2 separate regions of the Homo sapiens genome follow, and region 2 is linked to region 1. Evidence: promoter capture Hi-C in human tissues and cell types (Jung and others, 2019). All regions are on one chromosome and are shown on one strand. Each heading gives the region's core, a stretch centred on a gene start or on the middle of the fragment in contact. The rest is flanking DNA. Distances are from core to core; before and after follow the strand shown.

Evidence for each region. Contacts are between HindIII fragments. The study calls those that stand out against the background at their distance.
Region 2: a contact is called between a fragment that was not itself captured here and the fragment with the promoter of OR51F1 in region 1, in 1 of the 25 tissues and cell types used here (aorta).

Annotation. Positions count from the first base shown.
Region 1 is chr11:4,767,763-4,773,560 of GRCh38, reverse strand. It overlaps OR51F1 (olfactory receptor family 51 subfamily F member 1), which reads left to right and starts at 3,623. Exons shown (of 1, transcript NM_001004752.2): 1 at 3,623-4,582. The coding sequence starts at 3,623. The coding sequence ends at 4,582. The region is part of intron 2 of MMP26 (matrix metallopeptidase 26); the gene reads right to left. The HindIII fragment of the contact is 7,923 bases long and covers 1-5,465 here.
Region 2 is chr11:4,711,077-4,716,874 of GRCh38, reverse strand. All of the region lies in intron 1 of MMP26 (matrix metallopeptidase 26), which reads right to left. Among named protein-coding and RNA genes, the nearest start is that of MMP26, 9.2 kb to the right of the region's middle. The HindIII fragment of the contact is 6,949 bases long and covers 1-5,798 here.

The DNA of each region.
Region 1 (5,798 bases), core at 2,374-4,873:
CAGGAGTCTGAATACAGCTTTGCTGAGTTTTCTCCAAAGGCTGTGTCTCATTTGAAGCCTTATTGTGGAAGGCTATCCTTCCAAGCTTATGAAGTGTTGCTAGATTCTATTAGTTCCTTGTGGCCTGTTGAGTTGAGGGACTCAGTTTCTTGCTACATGTTGGCTAGGAGGCCATGTTCAGTTCTTGGCTGGTTGTTAGCTGGAGTCCACTCTTAGTCTTTTGCCACATAGGTTTGCCAAACATGGAACCTTGATTCACCAAAGACAGATCTTATATGACATATATGTGATGATATCCTGTCAACTTTGCCATATTCTATTGGTTAGAAGTTAGTCAGAGGTCCTACCCACACTCAACAGCAGAGGATAAACATGGGCTGAGTCCAAGAAGGTAGGAGTACTGAGGGACTATTTTATTATTTTACAATCTGACCGTCACAGATATTTGGGTGAAAACTCTAGATAGTTAGCTCTTTAAGACAACAGAGGCGAAACTTTTAATTATTTATTTCTGACTTATAAAATGATTTGATTATAGTTCATTTTTGTCGTGGAAGTATTAGTCAAAACAGTTGATGGGAATGCCGGGTAGAGATATAGTGCTTCAATTGAACCCATCACACTTTCAGCCATTAAAATTACTTGAACAGGAATGCACAGGAGTAATAGCAGAGTAGAAATCAAAGAAAAATAGCTGAGTGAGGAACAAATTACTGGTATTATTGATACCTAAACAAAAACAAGACTGTCTCCACAAATGTGCAGCTTCTCTATAAAGGAGAAACAAAAGGCTTGAATGTGAGACTTTTCTTATGAACCTAGAATTAGTAGACTGTAAAGTGTCTGCATCCATTAGTCAACTGCCTACACTGACAAAAATGAAAAAACTCTCTCAATAATCAGGTGCTTGAAAGTATTAATGCAAGAAAACAGCAGGGAACAGAGTAAGAATACATGCACATGAGAACATCATTCATTCATGGTAACCCTAGCTACTAGCAAAACAGGGCCAAATTAATATATCAGGAGCTGACACATTTACTGGGGGAAAACTCAGTGTTTGAAAAAGAATGGATTTGAGAATGGACATCTATCATTCTCCCTATGGTTCAATGTGGAAATGTAGGCATAGGAGCCTAGAGACTGGGTGTAAAGTTTTCCCTCTTTATTGTGACCATAATGATCCCAGTGAACAGTGGTTTCTTTTCCTATCTTGCCAGTACACTTATAATCCAGAGACAATGATGTACATCTCTCTATTCCCCAATGCTATGAACAGTGTGTAAATTTTCTATTTATATGCATAATTTGGTTTATTTTCCTCTGCATTTAATGTCCCTGTGGACCACAGGTTACTTGGATTAGTAACTAAAACCCTCTGGGATTACACACTCCTGCCCTCTAATTTTTATAGATAGGGAGAGAGGGTGGTTTCTTTTTTGCTCTGTCTTTGGCTGCAGAGAGACATAAATCATACAAATAATCTCACAGCTCAATTCTACCTTACTATAAAGTCCATGGCTCCAGAACTGTAGTCTATCCTTCCTCATCTAGCAAAGACAGAGAAGGTTCCTCTTTCCACGTAAAGCTGGTAAGAAGGGAGATAGATATATTTATCGTGTTGACTTTTACTTTGTTACCTATTCACAAATAGTCATATGGGTTTATAGAAAAGTCAGATATCATGAGGGTTTGCCCTGTCCTCATCGATCCACATAACATGTAGATATACAACCTCTAATAATTCATACTTAAATATTTTCATAATGTTTCTCAGATTGAATTGAAAATCAGACAACTGGAGATTTAAAATAAACCACAGAATACTAGCATAAAGGGAACAGTAACTTGTATCCTTGCTACAGAATATTTACTCTCATGAATTTGACACATCTAATTTTTTAAAGACTTGATTGAAAAATACTAACATTATACTCATGAATACTGCTATTATTTAATTTAATTCTCCCCAGAATTGATTTGAACAATATAAATATATTAATTGACAAAATTATTCTTGGAATTTTACTTGAAAGAGGCGATATAGCATTTCTGTTTACTGAGCCAATTGCCCTTCTCATTCGCTGTCTCCTGAAAACGTCTACTGTATCCGGAAGCCAGCAGCCATCACTTTACACTTTTGAACAGCAGTAAATTACCCCCAAATACTTCACAGAGAAAAAGGTAACAATTTCCTTATATAACTCTCCACAAACTTACATATTTGACACTTACTAGTGTCAGTGCAAATGATGGTCCTCATTTTTTTGAAGGTTACTCATGCTCTACACTTAATCACCCACTACTTTCTTAAGGACTTTTATAGATCAATAAATCCTTCACATTCTATATTTTAAATTTCTCATTATCTGCTACATTTTTAACCTCCGTTTATAAACATATCAATTTCTCGAATTCTGTCCCATCTTGCAAAAATTCTCCATCTACCTGATACCCCTTCTTTAGACATGGCCTACTTCTCCCCTTGCCTTCACTGCCAAGTTTCTTAAAATAAACCGTACCTCCACTGCTAATACTTTCATCATTACCACACTGTAGCAGGTTCTCAATTTTCCACTGTTTTTTCTGGGATCGCTAATGGCTCTCAGCTGCATTTGAATTTTTTAATCCTTACTAGGCTTCACAGCGCAAGCAATTCGACACAGCTGCTCATGTAACATCCGGTCTTCACACCATGTTTTTTTTTTTTCTTCTTTTTTAGACGGAGTCTCTCACTGTCACCAGGCTGGAGTGCGGTGGTGCAATCTTGGCTCACTGCAACCTCTGCCTCCTGGGTTCAAGCGATTCTCCTGCCTCAGCCTCCCAAGTAGCTGGGACTACAGATACACGCCACCATGCCCAGCTAATTTTTGTATTTTTAGTAGAGACGGGGTTTCACCATGTTGGCCAGGATGATCTTGATCTCTTGACCTCGTGATCCGCCCACCTCTGCCTCCAAAGTGCTGGGATTACAGGCATGAGCCACCTGCCCAGCCTCTTTTGGTTTTCATAGTCCCCATAAAACCAGTCTCATCTTGCTTTAGTGTATATAGTGCATTCCAGTCTTCTGGAGAGTTCTGTCCTCATTGTTTTTCTCTTATAATTCTAGTCTCTGAAGTTGTTTACCTATAGTGTTGGATGAAAATGATAAATATACATTGATAACTTTATATTCCTGGCAAATATCTGGAGATCTGTGTCTGCAGACTCATACCCTTATGGTCACTGAAGAACCATGGATATTTTTAAGTGGCTATTATTCATTGTACTCACAAAATATTCAAAATTGAGGATACTTATTTTTTCTCAGCTAAGTCTTTATTCAAATAATCTTACAATATGATGCATCTTAATATATTCTGTAAATGGACACTATCATGAAAATGTATAAAATCATATGGACATATTTCCCTTGAATTTTATGGTACAAAAACATATTTTTGTGAACTATTTCTGATTATGAGTGGTAGATGAACATTATAATTTAATTTAAAGGTTTCTCAATGATGCAGATCTTATCTATGACCTTGGATAACTCTACTAACTAAAAGAAAATGTATCTAAATATTTTACATAACACTTAATGTATCACTTCTATAGGATGGAAGCATTGTGAGGACAAATGCTGCAAAACCAGGACACCATGGAAATCCTAAGCAACTCAACATCTAAATTTCCAACCTTCTTGTTGACCGGCATTCCTGGCCTAGAGTCTGCCCATGTCTGGATCTCCATTCCTTTCTGTTGTTTTTATGCCATTGCCCTCTCTGGGAACAGCGTGATCCTGTTTGTCATCATTACCCAGCAGAGTCTCCATGAACCCATGTATTATTTCCTCTTCAGGCTATCAGCCACTGATCTGGGCTTGACTGTTTCTTCATTGTCAACAACATTAGGTATCCTCTGGTTTGAGGCACGTGAAATCAGTCTATATAGCTGCATTGTCCAGATGTTTTTTCTTCATGGATTCACTTTTATGGAATCTGGAGTGCTGGTGGCTACAGCCTTTGACCGTTATGTGGCCATCTGTGACCCTCTGAGGTACACTACCATTCTCACTAATTCCAGAATCATTCAAATGGGTCTTCTGATGATTACACGTGCTATAGTACTAATATTGCCACTACTTTTGCTCCTTAAGCCTCTCTATTTCTGTAGAATGAATGCCCTTTCTCACTCCTATTGTTACCATCCAGATGTGATTCAATTAGCATGTTCAGACATTCGGGCAAATAGCATCTGTGGATTAATTGATCTCATCCTGACCACTGGAATAGATACACCATGCATTGTCCTGTCATATATCTTAATTATTCACTCTGTCCTCAGAATTGCCTCCCCTGAAGAATGGCACAAGGTCTTCAGCACCTGTGTCTCCCATGTGGGAGCAGTTGCTTTCTTCTACATCCACATGCTGAGCCTGTCCTTGGTGTATCGCTATGGTCGGTCAGCCCCCAGAGTAGTCCATTCAGTGATGGCTAATGTATACCTGCTTTTACCCCCTGTGCTCAACCCCATCATCGACAGTGTAAAAACAAAACAAATCCGCAAGGCTATGCTCAGTCTGCTGCTTACAAAATGAACAGACATAGTTTTATTTGATACAAACCTGGCATGAATGACTTGCACTGTAGAAAAGCGAACTTGCTCTCTTACTGCCTATTGCATGTGGGTTTTTAAAATATTTTTCATTCACCAAACAAATAGTAAATATGTTGTATATTTGGTCATAAAATATAAGTATGATATATCACCCAAGACATTTGTAGTGGAATTAGGAAAATAACAATAATGAAATGATAAATAATACTCCTGGCAATTAACATGTATTGACTCTTTGTTTCAGGCTAGGTGTTCTACTAACTGCTTTTAAGACATATTCCATTTATTCTTCCAAAACAGCGAAATGAAATATATATTACTATTAGCGATATATTACAGATGATGGAACAGATTTATAGACATTTAGGCCCCCAAAGGCCATGTGAATAACATGAGGCACAGTTGAGATTTGAACCCAGGTGTTCTGTATCTCAAATGCTATGCTCTTCATCACTGTATTACATACTCTGCCAAAGTCATGTAGCAGAAATGTTTTAAGATCAAAAGTAAGACCTGGATCTCCATGGTTCCATCCTTTGTCTTAAAAAGTTGTAGTAACCTTCTTAGAATATACTCTAGCTGTTTTCTTCATGGATAATTCATAATACAAAAGGTAGGAATAGATATGTCATGGCATGTGAGTCACTATCCAGTGTTGGACAGTCCAAAGAAAAGCTTTAGGGGTGAGGCACACTTGCTAATTTATCACAGGGAATGGGAACTTGAGAGAACTAGAAAAGAATGTAAAGTAAATTACAAGGAAGTTTGGGGCAGATGTTCTGAACCTTTTTCTGCATTGTGGTCCCTTAGAAAGCTAATGAAATTTATGGACCTTTCCCCATAGATAAACATACTCACATTATTTTCCATAGTTTTCACAGTTTTCACAAATGCCATTAAAGACCTATGTGACTCCTTAACCAGCTAAAGAACCAAGGTAAAGAATTCATAGTTCTTGCCTATACACAGTTTTACAGAGACAGACACAAAATGTTTGGTTTCTGAAAACGAACTTATGGTAACTCTTTGGATTTAAGAGACAGACAGAAGCTTAAAAATGTCAATTGCATATAATGGCAGAATAAAATCAGAGGGAAATGGAGATGGAAACCTAAAGGCAGTCACATCAATTTTATTGCCATTGGAAAAATAGTGATAGGTGGAAGAAATGTACCAGGTACCCCACAAATACTGAG
Region 2 (5,798 bases), core at 1,083-3,582, 55 kb after region 1:
CCTGGCCAAAATGGTGAGACCCCATCTCTACTAAAAATACAAAACATTAGCCAGGCATGTTGGCACACACGTGTAATCCCAGCTACTTAGGAGGCTGAGGCAGGAGAATCGCTTGAACCTGGGAAGTGGAGGTTGCAATGAGCTGAGATCGCACCATTGCACTCCAGGCTGGGCAACAAGAGCGAAACTCCATCTCAAAAAAAAAAAAAAAAAAAAAAAAAAAAGAGGTAAGAGAGATCAAGTATGGAATTATCTTCTTTGCTTCAAAAGCATAAGAGATTTTTTCTATTCATACAATCTATATAAACATGCAATTTATCCCTCAATCTAAATATAATTAAAAACAACAAGAACAACGTTCTTCTTAGCCTGCATCCCTGCTGTGTGTATCTCCTTTCCTACACCAACAACTCATAAAATGATTTGTCTATCCTCATTTCCCTCCCTCATGATTCATACCTATATTTGAAATCTGGTTCTGTTTTTGATCAAAACATTCTTTGTTGCATTAGTTGTCTATAGCTGCATAAGAAATTACTAAAAATTCAGTGACTTTAAACAAGACACATATATTACCTCACAGTTCAGTAAGGCAGATGTCTGAGCACAGCAAAAGTAGGTGCACTACTCAGGATCTCGCACGGTTGAAATTAAAATTCCAGCCAGTACCATGTTCTTAATTGGAGAGGAACAATTGGAGATTGTTCTTAATTACAATCCTCACTCAGATTGCCGTAGGAATTTAGTTCCTTGTGGTATATGGTTGAGGTCTCCAATTTCTTGCTGGGCTTTTAGCTTCTAGAGGCTACCCTCAGTCCCAGTCATGTGTTCTTCTCACAATATGACATCTTAGGTCTTCAAATCCAGCAGTAGAACCTCCTTCGAGATTCTTCTCTCTTTTAAAGACTTCCGTGATTAGGTAAGCCCTAGCAGGATAGTCTTCCTTTTGATTAACTCAAAGTCAAGTAATCAGGGACCTTAGTTACATCTGTTAAATCCTTTTGCCATATAATGTAACGTAATCATGGGAGTGATATCCCATCACATTCACAGGCCCCACTCACACACCCAAGGCATGGGTATTGCTCAGGACAAGTACACCAGGATGGGCAGAAATCTTTAGAGCCCTTTTAGAATTCTACCAACCCCATCTGTCATGGCTATCCAGTCTCCAAATCTTTATAGGTTCAACTTCTGAAATGTCTCTTGATTGACCATATTTATCTTCCAGTTTTATTAGTGACCTTCCTCCCTACCCTCAGAAATCTTTTTATATACTCCACCTGGGCTTTTCCCTACTTCACCAAACTACCAAATATAGCAAGTTCTTTCACACTAATGTGCTTGCTTAATTCATGTAGTTCTCTCTTTTTTGAATAAGACAAAAAATTTTAGATCCACTATTTGATCCACCGAACTACGTATAAATTAAACATGAATTTATTTCAGGAAGCATTTGGTGGCATCACCTACTCTAAGTCAAGTCAGAAGAACTTACTTCTTCCTCTGGAGTTATATTCTTTTTTTTTTTTTTACAGGAAAAAAAGACTTTATTTGATAACAGCTTGATGAAACGATATTCTTTTATATTTATGCATCTAAAATAGTGTTTATTCCATTGTACGATCAAATACACCTCTCTAACAAAATTAAGTTACTGGAAGGTAGTTCATTGTTTTTTCATCGTTATATTCCCAATACCTTGAAATATATTTTGAGAAGTATGGGCATACAATATATACATGTTGATGTGAATTCAATCCAAGAGTTGTTAACTGACCAAGATTCTGAACACATCTCAGGACCTCAACACATTCAATTTTGTCTATTTAAAACATGCTGTGTTGCCTAAAATTATATATGTGGCTTCTGGAAGAATCGCACAGAGCTCTCCAGTGTTCTCACAAACTGAGTAATGTGTGTGTGTGTGTGTGTGTGTGTGTGTGTGTGTGTGAGAGAGAGAGAGAGAGAGAGATTTGGGGTTTTACTGATGGAAGACTCTGTCCTAGTATTGGAGGGTTAACTTTTATGTGCCCTCCCATTTGTTGACAGTAATTATCTTCCTATTATACCAAGATAACACTCCAGGCCCATTGTAAGAATGTGTTTCAAGTTATTTCCTGGGCTACCTTGACTTATCTCTCTTCTCTGATTACAGAGTAAGTGATATTGTTATACCGTCATACAAACCTAGGTTCAAATTTGGTCTCTGCCACCTAGAGCTAGCCGGAGTTCTCCAAATAAGCACTTTACATCAGATTCCACTAAGGTGAAACTGGTAGTTCACCAATGGCACTACTTTGTAAGGATTAAACAAGATAACATTGCAAAGCATATAATATGCTGACCAGTGTGTGGGACGTGGAAGTCACGTGATATTGGTAAATGAAGATGAGGATGAGGATAAGAATGGCAGTGGCAGTGTGTGTGACGGTGGTAGTGGCTGTTGACTTTAGGACCTTCAGTGGCAGTTATAAAATGTGACACAACTAACCAGGAAACTTAAAATTGCATGGACACATTAACAACCTGCTCTAAGCAGCAAAACAAATGGCTCATAGACCAATCAAACCTCCTCAGAATAGAATGTTCCTAGAAAATACAGATTTCAGAAAATAGATTTCCACAATTTTCCTTAGGCACCCACAAGAGCTTTCTGCAGCTAATAAAGTCCCCCTCATTCTTAAAAGAAACCAGGGCGTGTAAAGTGTAATGTTTTTCGTAAATGCAGCAGTTTTACTTACAAAGTATAAGGATGTGTTCTTTCCTGCCTGTTTTCCAGAAAGGAGCCTGAGGAGCTGGGGATGTATTCTACCCAGAAATAAGTAGCATATATCTGAAGCCATATCTCAGGATGCCTGAAAGCTCTTAATAAGCTCCTGGTGGTGATTTCTGCAGCCCCCAGAGTATGAAGCTTCCCAAGGGCTCATTCTACTTCATGGCTTTCTTCTCCTTCTACTTCATGTTCTTTTATAGTTTCCATGAAGGGACTGCTGTTACAGGTCTTTGATCTTATGTGTTGTTAAAATTTTCTTAAAAGTAAATTTGTGAGTAACCACACCCTCCCAAAAAAACCCACCAGATCGCCCCTCATCTTCACACCACTCCCACACCCAACTGATAAACTTATCTTCCTCCTATATTATTTAGGTGAATTTTATATATTTTTAGAAACCCCTCTGCTTGTGCTTCACTCTATGCCCCCCAAAAATCTTCATTTATTCTTTCATGGAACATTTGAAGTATCTTTCATATTCTAGGACTTTGTACTGGTAATACAGAGAATAAAACAGAGTCTTTTCCCTCCAGAGCTCCTTGGAGGGAACCACCTGTGGAAACAGACATAAAACTCAGTGTTTACAATGAGGGATATTTACGATGACAGTACAGAAGAGTTGTGTTTATCCTGAAGGAAACTCAGAACCAGGTCTGTCAGGAGACAATGGAGCACAGAGTGTAGGAAGAACAGAAGGTGACTAATAACAGACTCAGCTCACTTGGAACCCTGGGTGCCAGTGTGGGGGAGAGATGAAGCTAAATAGGGAGACAGGATCTATGTTAGGCATGAAGATCTTTTATGCATCCTAAGTCATTTGAATCTAAATAACATAATACAAATAACACAGCATGGAACTTAGTCTTTCCTCTTCCCTAGAAAAATGCATTTTTACAGCTCCACGTGAAGCAGCTGAGGAAGTCAGGCACCTAATTTGAGAATCCCTAATATATTGCAGTTTTCTGCTTGGTTTCAATATCAACCTGAATGGTACAAACATCACATTTTCCCCCTAAACTCTGATATATCCGTTTATAGAAATGTCAATTTAGAAGACATTCTCAAACAGAACCTCAACACCCTATCGCCTACTCTTTCAAAGTCTACTTCAGATTAACCAGACTACTATTTTCAGCATTAGTTCTCACAGTTTTAAACAACCATTGTTTCAGATGGACTATAAATAAAAGCAAAATGTATAGACCATAGTATTGGATGTTGTTGAATTCAGAGTGTAACATAGATAGTAGGGAAAAATAAGAGATATAAGCTGTAAGATTAAAAGAAAAAAAAACTTAGAAATAAGAAAAAATATAAAGTATTACTTTATAAAGAGAGAAAATAAATATACTTCAAAGTGGATTTTATTAAGGTACGTATAACTATACTATACAAGATTATCTGTAATTGACACTTCATAAATTACATTATTAAAGCATGAATCAAAATTGTTACTTTCACAATAACATTCTTAGTACATCTATTTTAAGATACACCCAAAAATGTGGTTGCTCCAACTTCAAAATTATTTTTGAAAACTTTTCCTATCCATATGAAATTTAAATAACTTATGTTTATGCTTTCATTGCTTAGAAATGAGTGCATATTATATTTTCTCTATTAAACAGTAAATTTCTAGGAGCTATATTTTTCTTATTAAGTCAAGTATTTCCTGGGCTGGTTGTTTTTCCATTGGTTCAGGCTTCTACTGGGAGAAAGAGAGACCGCCATCTATGACTACTCTTAGCATGTGGTATAATGTTTTGTACACAGTTTGTAAGTAAAAACTGATTAAAATATTGTTTGAATTTAGATATGTTTAGTCAGATTTAAACACCTTAAGAATGAAGGCTGTGCCTTCCCCATTCACTGTTTTATCCCTAGTACCTCCCTTCCACAGTGTTTGCCAAAATGAAGATGCTCAAAATATGTCAGTATATATGTGAAGTTATATAAAAATAAATTTAATTCAATAAGCATACATTAAGTAGCTATTATTAATAAAGCACTGCACTTGTATCTGTGCGAGATACATCAATTCCCAAAGTCCAATGCCCATTTTCAAAAAGTTTCAGATCAGTAGGGGAAGAGAAATCTGACTCCCTGTAAGACAAAGATTTATTAACAGCACCTGAAAGAATAATAAATGGAACAATCAGGAAAAGAAAGAGGTGGGTATGTCAGTCAGAGAGAGCAAAATAATCACAGACTTAGAGGCAATATATTCCTGGTGTTTTTCAGAAATATATATAATTCATCAAAGTGGATAGACCCCAGAAAAGTGTTACTCTTTCATACATGATAATCCGTAAATGTCTTGTTAAAATGCAAATTTGTGGGTTCCATTTCAAGGGCTTCTGTTTAAGTAGCTCTGGAGCGGAATTGAGGAATCTGCACTTTAAACGGAAGTGTCAAGTGGTTTGGATGCACAGATGCTGGACCACATTGAGAAAAGTGATAGATGCAAGTAGAAAGTGGATGTCATCTTATGAGTGTATTCAGTGGGTTGCATGAGGCCAGATCTGTGAAGACCCACTGGAATGAAGATCTTATGTAAGATGAAGAACTAAAAAAGTTTTGTTTTGTGGGAAGGTATTAAGTGGAAATTACTTCATTATCCAAAAAGAAAAAGAAACCCTCATTATTGAACATTTATAAAATGCAAGAAAGTGTAAAGAATATGTCAGCAAAACAATATCCAGCTATCAAATATAAGCTGTTGTAATGTTTGGGATATGTCTATTTATACTTTTTAATGTGCATTTACACATATTCACATGAAATATATACACAAGTAAGTACTTTGTATACTAACCTATATTTTTTAACAAAATGTAATTTATATTTGTATCAGTATTTAACTTGTTGCATTGTATTTTATGTTTTATTAGGTCAGTACCCTAAAGTAATTATTTAAGCAGTTTCCACATGTTCATTGCAATGTATAATGAATGATGTGTTGAACATCACAATATATCTTTACATTCTTGCCCATTTTTCTTCTTTAGACATATATTTAGAC